Regions from separate parts of the Homo sapiens genome. Here region 2 is linked to region 1. Evidence: promoter capture Hi-C in 16 types of primary human blood cells and fetal thymus (Javierre and others, 2016). All regions are on one chromosome and are shown on one strand. Each heading gives the region's core, a stretch centred on a gene start or on the middle of the fragment in contact. The rest is flanking DNA. Distances are from core to core; before and after follow the strand shown. Region 1 holds the start of STYXL1 (serine/threonine/tyrosine interacting like 1). Region 2 overlaps POM121C (POM121 transmembrane nucleoporin C).

Region 1 (3,755 bases), core at 773-3,272:
CATCTCTACTAAAAACACAAAAATTAGCTGGGCACGGTGGTGCGCGCCTGTAGTCCCAGCTATTCGGGAGGCTGAGGCAGGAGAATCGCTCCAACCTGGGAGGTGGAGGCTGCAGTGAACCGAGATCACGCCACTGCACTCCAGCCTGTCGACAGGGCGAGGCACTGCATCAAAAAAAGTAAATAAAATTGGTACCCTCTTCCCTAACACAAGCACCCTACAATCCCCATTTTTCTTGCATGTTCATCACTATTTTAAGATACTTTATAATGAGTGGGGCAATAAGTAAAATATCTAGTAATTTCCGTGAGAGCAGGGACTTCTGTGTTTTGTTCACCGCTGTATTTCCAGTACCTAGCTCAATAAATATGTCGGATATCTGAAGGTCCTACCAAAACTCAACCTCTCCCTGGACACCCCTGTCCTCTCTTTGGTTGGCTGCCCCTCCCCCACACCTCATCCCTCCTGTCCTGTTTACTCATTCCCTAAGACCTTCATCGCCTCCACCTGTCCTAAGTTTACTCATTCCCTAAGACCTTCATCGCTTCCACCTGTCCTAAGTTTACTCATTCCTGTCCCATATCAAGTGTCACTTCTCACTTATCTTGGTATCCCCTGCAGCACCCAGCATAGTTGTTGGCAAGCACAGGTACTTAATGTACTTATCTGTATACAGCTGGGCCCCCACTTCACCGCAGCGCAAAAGCATTTGGTACATTCAACTTACAATGGGGTTGCCTGTGGGAACCCATTGCAAGTTGAAAATACACAAAGTTAAACTCGCCTTTTGACTTAGGATATTACCAACTTGCGATGGGTATGGGAAGTAGCCATCAATCCAGGAGCATTTGTATTTATTTTTCAAATGAACTGGATGTACAGGAAACTCGAGAACTTCGATGATAAATTTGGATTCCCCTTTAAAATTACCTCCCTCTTGGGCGTCGTAATTAAAAGGCAATGCGAGCACCTCCTGGGTTCTCAAAATTAGGTTTAATTAGATTCACCTGGTAAAAATGCGGACCCCCCCCCCCCCCCCCGCAGTCTTAAGCTTCTTCAATGAACCCAGACGTCTGTTTTTTATTAGCTTTCTGGTGATTCTGACACACTGCAGAGTTTAAGAACCACCATTCTAGAAGATGGCTAAAAATAGCCTAGGCTCCTAGGCTTAAGTGGTCGCGGGCCAAGTCAAGCACTGTTAAGACACCTGGCGGCAGGCTCAGTCCGCCCACAGCAGGAGAGATCCTCCAAAAAGGTTAAGAGGAAGCCGTCTTCAGGTCAGAAGCGCTGAATTCTAATCCTCTGGCCAAATGACTGTAACCCTGGCCCAGTTCTCTAGCCTCGGTTTGTCCATACTATGGAATTAGGAAGTATACGATTTCTTTTATTCACGCACAACTCACACGGATGCTGCAAGGAGATTAGCTACGTCAAAGCAATGGAACGCTGCAGAAAAAAACGTAAGTTTACTTTCAGATGCAGAGCCCTGGTTTCCCAACCTTGAAGGCGTGCAAGCCAAGAGCAGGTCCTCTGGGAAATCTGGGAGACCTGGGGGAACCCTGACAAATGGACCGGCCCTGGAGCGGGACTACCTCGCCCCCTTTTCCCCGGCTTTCTCCCCCGCACCTCCAGGCCAGTGTCAGGGCCTGCCCCGGGCGCCACAGTCTCCAGCCAGTGCCGGGCATCCCTGCGGTCCAGGCTGGCCTGGAGAGGGTCAGAGCTGCCCGCGAACCGGGGACGCACGTGGCCCGGGCCGGGGGGCCTCCGCCTGCAGGCCGCCCCTCGTCTGGCCTACCTGGGCCGAGGTGCTGAAGCTGCGGCGGAGAGCAGCGCTGGCAGGCCGGGCGAGGGCGGAGAGCATGGCTGGAGCGGGAGGGGCACCGACTGGCAGGCACAGGAGCTGGTGACGGGGAAGTGACTCCAACGACCTCCACACTGCCCAGCGCCTGCTCTCTGGGGCCTCGCGAGAGTGACCGGACTTCCGGTCGCGCTCGCCTCCGGGATCTCGTGAGATCACGGCCACTTCCGGGAGTCGGAAAGGAAAGCTGTGGGACCATCCTGGCAACCCCGGTGTTTGGCTGGGTTCTAGCGTAGCCGTCTGTGTGGCCGGTGGGGGACCTGCGGTCGGAGTGGGAGGGCCAGTCTGCACCCAAGAGGTGGAAGAGGACGGGCTTTAGGCTGGAAGCGCCTTAGAGGAGCCATTTTTCCAGGTGGGGCCCCAGGCAGAGGCTCCGACAGGGAGCCTGGCCATAGTCGCGCAGCCGGGGAGGTGGAGCGCGTCCCAGACCCGAGCCCCCGACCTCAGCCAAACCCATTCCTTCTGCCCTTGGAGGCCAGAGGGGACTCTGAGCTCCGGAAAGGTAGGGTCAGGGAGGCTGAGAGTCCTTAGGCGGGGTGGGAGGAAGGGGCCATCTCCTCAGATCCGGGCCGTCGTTTCCCAAGTTGCAGAGACCCTTGGGTTCAGGTTTAGTGACACCACTGCTGATAATGGCGACCTCCAGCCCTGCAAGCTTTAGAGGACCACTATTCTGTGTTCCAGATGAGCAAATAGGTTGTAGGGACAACAACTTCCGTGGTCATACAGTTCCTGTCTTCTCTCGCCTGCCCGGCAGTGCTCTGACGGTCCCACTGTTTCTGCTTTACGAATAAAGACACTGTGGCTGAGGCCAAGTGGATTTGTAGAGTTTACGCAGACAGAAAGTCGAGTAGAATTCCTTGCTCACAATGAGTTTATTACTTAAATGTATGAATTTATTTATTTTTTTGAGACGGAGTCTCTCTAGCCCAGGCTGGAGTGCAGTGGCGCGATCTTGGCTCACTGCAACCTCTGCCTGTCAGGTTCAAGTGGTTCTCCTGCCTCATTCTCCTGAGTAGCTGGGATTAGCGCACCACTACACCTGGCTAATTTTTTGTATTTTTTTTTTAGTAGAGACGGGGTTTCACCACGTTGGTCAGGCTGGTCTCGAACTCCTGACCTCGTGATCCACCCGCCTCGGCCTCCCAAAGTGCTGAGATTACAGGCGTGAGCCACCGCGCCCGGCCTGATACATATTTTTAAAATTAAACAACACCCCCAGGCAAGGTGGCTCATGCCTGTAATCCCAGCACTCTGGGAGGCTGAGGCGGGCCGATCACTTGAGGCCAGGAGTTCATGACCAGCCTGGCTAACATGGTGAAACCCCATCTCTACTAAAAATACAAAAATTAGCCCAGCGTGGTGGTGTACACCTGTAGCCCCAACTACTCCGGAGGCTGAGGCAGGAGAATCGCTTGAACCCGGGAGGTGGAGGGAGGTTGCAGTGAGCCGAGATAACCCCACTGTACTCCAGCTTGGGCGACGGAGAAAGACTCTGTCTCAAAAAAAAAAAAAAAAAAAGCCGGGTGTGGTGGCTTATGCCTGTAATCCCAGCACTTTGGGAGGTCAAGGCGGGCAGATCACCTGAGGTCAGGAGTTTGAGACCAGACTGGCTAATGTGGCGAAACCCCATCTCTACTAAATATACAAAAATTGGCTGGGCATGGTGGCGTGTGCCTGTAGTCCCAGCTACTCAGGAGGCTGAGGCAGGAGAATCCCTTGAACCCAGGAGGTGGAGGTTGCTGTGAGCCAAGATTGTGCCATTGTACTCCATCCTGGGTGATAAGAGCTAAACTCCGGCTCAAAAGCGCGCGCGCGCGCGCGCGCACACACACACACACACACACACACACACACACACACACACACACACACACACACACACACACACAGCAGATAA
Region 2 (3,988 bases), core at 118-2,617, 620 kb after region 1:
CTTTATTATTTTATTAATATTTTCATATGTAAATCCATAATCCACCTGAAATTGATTTTTGTGTGTGGTGTGAGGTTGGGATCAAAATTAGTTTTTTTTGTTTGTTTGTTTGTTTTTTACTATAGAAATACCCATTTCTCTCAGCAACATTTATTGAAAGGACCATCCTTATTTCTCTGCAGCACTGCCTTTGTCTAATTTAAGTGTCCGTATATATGTGGGTCCATTTCTAGACTTTCTTTTGTTCCATTGGACTATTTTTCTTACTACCCTTGTACCAGTCTTTGTTTTACCCCTACCCTTATACTTTAAGTCTTGATAGAGTCAGTCGTCCCCCTTTCTCATTTCTTTTCAGGACTGTCTTGTTTCTTGGCCTTTTGCATTTTCATATAATTTTTAGATCAACTTGTCAATTTCCACACACACAAAAAAAAGTTTTGAGATACTGATTGGGATTGCCTTTCATCTACTGATTACTTTGGATGGAGTTAACATTGTTATAATATTGACCTTGTTTACTTCTAATCTATGAACATGGAATGTCATTCATTTCTTTATTTAACTTTTGAGACAAGGGGTCTTGCTCTGTGGCCCAGGCTGGAGTGCAGTGGCATGATCATAGCTCACTACTGCCTTGAAATCCCAGGCTCAAGCAATCCTCCTGCCTCAGCCTTTTGAGTACAGGCATGCATCACCACACCTAGCTAATTTTAAAAAACTTATAGTAGAGACAAGGTCTCACTGTGTTGCCTAGGCTGGTCTCAAACTTTTGAGCTCAAGCAGTCTTCCCACCTTGGCCTCTCTGAGTGCTGGAATTATAGGCATGAACCACCATGTCCCACCTCTTTCATTTATTTACATTATCTCTAATTCATCTCTGTAGAAGTTTTACTTCTCTTGTATTAGATTTATTTCTAGGTATCTGGTTTTTGTTTTGTTTTGTGAGATGGAGTCTCGCTCTGTCGCCCAGGCTGGAGTGCAGTGGCACAATCTCGGCTCACTGCACCCTCCACCTCCCGGGTTCAAGTGATTCTCCTGCCTCAGCGTTCCAAGTAGCCGAGATTACAGGCATGCGCCACCACACCTGGCTAATTTTGGAGTTTTAGTAGAGACAGGATTTCACCTTGTTGGCCAGGCTGGTCTCAAACTCCTGACCTCAAGTGATCCACCTGCCTCTGCTTCCCAGAGTGCTGGGATTATAGGCATGAGCCACAGTGCCTGGCCCTAGGTATATGGTTTTGATGCTATTATAAATAGTGTCTTCAAAATGTGATTGGCTGTGCTGGTGTCTAGAAATACAACTGATTTTGTATTCAGAAAGTTTGCTAAATCTGTATGTTCTTTAGGATTTTAGTACATACACTCATGTCTATGATAATGAGTTTTTCCTTCCCTCTGCAGTCTTATTCTGTTTATGTCTTACTGCACTTGGCTAGGACTTTGAGTTGAATAGACATAATAATAAACATCCTTGTCTTGTTATATCTGAAATGAGTGTGTACGTACAGTCAATGAAGTAGAGGAGTAATAACTTTTTTCCCCTAATTGTTAAACCAGTTGACCAGTTGTCTTCCAGTCCTAGCTAATCATTACAGTCACCTTTGGCTTTTTTTTTTTTTTTTCCTTGAAGAGACCTCACTATATTGCCTAGGCTGGTCTCAAAACTCTTGGGCTCAAGTGATCCTCCCACCTTGGCCTCCCAAAGTGTTGGGATTACAGGCATGCACCACCACACCTGGCTAATTTTTGTATTTCTAGTAGAGATGAGGTTTCACCATGTTGGCCACACTGTTCTCGAACTCCTGACCTCAGGTGATCCTCCTGCCTCAGCCTCCTGAAGTGCTGGGATTACAGGCATGAGCCACCTCATCCGGCCCCTTTGGCATTTCTGACCCTTGCTTGCTCAGTGATGTGTATCCCTCAGTGTCTGGAGCACATTGTGAACAAAAATGCAAGGTTTATGGTTTTGTTTTAATTTTATTACTTTAACTACAGATAGGGTCTTTCTGTGTTGCCCAGGCTGGTCTGAAACTCCTGGGCTCAAGCAGTTCTCCTGCCTCAGTCTCCCAAAGTGCTAGGATTACAGGCATGAGCCACTGCACTTGGCCATCTATGTGCTTTTAAAGTTCCACAGGTGGCTAAGCGTGGTGGCTCACACCTGTAATCCTAGTGCTTTGGGAGGCCAAGGCGGGCAGATCACGAGGTCAAGAGATCAAGACCATCCTGGCCAACATGGTGAAACCCCATCTCTACTAAAGATACAAAAATTAGCCGGCTGTGGTGGCATGCTCCTGTAGTCCCAGCTACTCAGGAGGCTGAGGCAGGAGAATCGCTTGAACCAGGGAGGCGGAGGTTGCAGTGAGGTGAGATCGTGCCACTGCACTCCAGCCTGGTGACAGAGCAAGGCTCCGTCTCAAAAAAAAAAAAAGTTCCACAGGTGACTGATGAGCCGTCGTGTGAGAACCAGCGAGGTAGTGTCAGGGATCTGAAGTGATTGAAAATGCCGCTTATATATTCAATCCTTGGATCCCTTTGATGAGTTTTTGTATTCTGCTCTTTTATATGCCTGTAATCCCATGTTTTTTAAACCATTGTGCTCTGGCCTTTCTTGCTGTTTGAGCGTAACTTCAACTGTTATTGCCGTGAGCAGTCTTCTCAAGCTCCTCCTGGGCCCGGCTTCCTGATGATGGCCTCACTGAACTGTTCTGCTGCTTACCACTTGTCTGAAGCTTCCTCTTTTCCCTTTTTGAACTCTTATTAAGCTTGGCTTCCTGTTTGTACTTATTAAGCTTGTTGGCTTCCTGTTTGTACTTATATGATGTAGCTGGTACTGGGTAAGAAATCACTAGCAGCTTTTCAAGTAGGAAAGACGGTCTGAGGTGACAGTTTAGTGGCTTTGTAATTAGGCTCAGCACTTACGAGACTATTTGCAGTGTCCGCTCTGTGCCATCTACTTTGCTGCTGGTCTGTGGAGGAAGCAGAGATGAAAACACCATCTTTGCTGTCAAGAACTCACCTGGTGGAAGAGGCAGATGTATGGATAATCATCACATGATGATAAATGCCATCGTTGTTGCAAAAGTCATAAATATTATGACAGTGCTTTTTTTGTTTTTGTTTTTGTTTTTTGTTTCTTTTTGAGACAGAGTCTCACTCTGTCACCCAGGCTGGAGTGCAGTGGCACGATCTTGGCTCACTTCAAGCTCCGCCCCCCAGGTTTACGCCATTCTCCTGCCTCAGCCTCCCGAGTAGCTGGGACTACAAGCACCCGCCACCACGCCCAGCTAATTTTTTGTATTTTTTTGTATTTTTAGTAGAGATGGGATTTCACTGTGTTAGCCAAGATGGTCTCCATCTCCTGACCTCGTGATCCACCCCCCTTGGCCTCCCAAAGTGCTGGGATTACAGGCGTGAGCCACCACGCCTGGCCATGACAGCGTATTTTTAAAATGAAGTTACTAAATGAAAAATCGAAAATTTAATGGAAGCAAGACTAAATTAGTTTACTGGGTTGTCTTCTTTAATTTACTTGTATCCTTTCCGTAGACAGTCTGGCACAGGTTTGAATGTGTCCTGGCTCTTCATTACTGAGGCTAATATATGCAAAAGTGTGTCCATCCCTTCTACCTTTATTCACATTCCATTACTTTTATAGACTTTTCTTTTTTTGCTTTCATAATTAATACTGGCAGTTGACTTTCTTTTCAGGGGTCTTTCTTCACAAACAAATTTTTTTCATTTTCATTTTCTATTTTTTTTTTTTTTTTTTTTTTTTTGAGACAGGGTCTCACTCTGTCACCCAGGCTGGAGTGCAGTGGGGCAATCTCAGCTCACTGCAGCCTCCTGAGTAGTTGGGACCACAGATGCAAACCACCACACCCAACTGATTTTTCAATTTTTTGTAGAGACGGGGGTCTCGCTATGTTACCCAGGCTGGTCTCAAACTCCTGGGCTCAAGCAATCCTCCCACCTTGGCCTCCCAGCATGC

What was found. The method cuts DNA at HindIII sites, captures the fragments that hold promoters and counts their contacts. A CHiCAGO score of 5 or more calls a contact.
Region 2: a fragment that was not itself captured here is called in contact with the fragment with the promoter of STYXL1 in region 1 in 2 of 17 cell types (erythroblasts and fetal thymus); the score reaches 7.4 in erythroblasts.

Annotation. Positions count from the first base shown.
Region 1 is chr7:76,046,267-76,050,021 of GRCh38, reverse strand. STYXL1 (serine/threonine/tyrosine interacting like 1) reads left to right here and starts at 2,022. Exons shown (of 9, transcript NM_001317785.2): 1 at 2,022-2,360. MDH2 (malate dehydrogenase 2) reads right to left here and starts at 1,916. Exons shown (of 9, transcript NM_005918.4): 1 at 1,796-1,916. The coding sequence starts at 1,861. RefSeq lists enhancers at 985-1,766, 2,042-2,121, 2,232-2,321, 1,767-2,549 and a silencer at 1,632-1,791. The HindIII fragment of the contact is 1,459 bases long and covers 1,054-2,512 here.
Region 2 is chr7:75,426,586-75,430,573 of GRCh38, reverse strand. All of the region lies in intron 7 of POM121C (POM121 transmembrane nucleoporin C), which reads left to right. Among named protein-coding and RNA genes, the nearest start is that of TRIM73, 33 kb to the right of the region's middle. The HindIII fragment of the contact is 2,729 bases long and covers 3-2,731 here.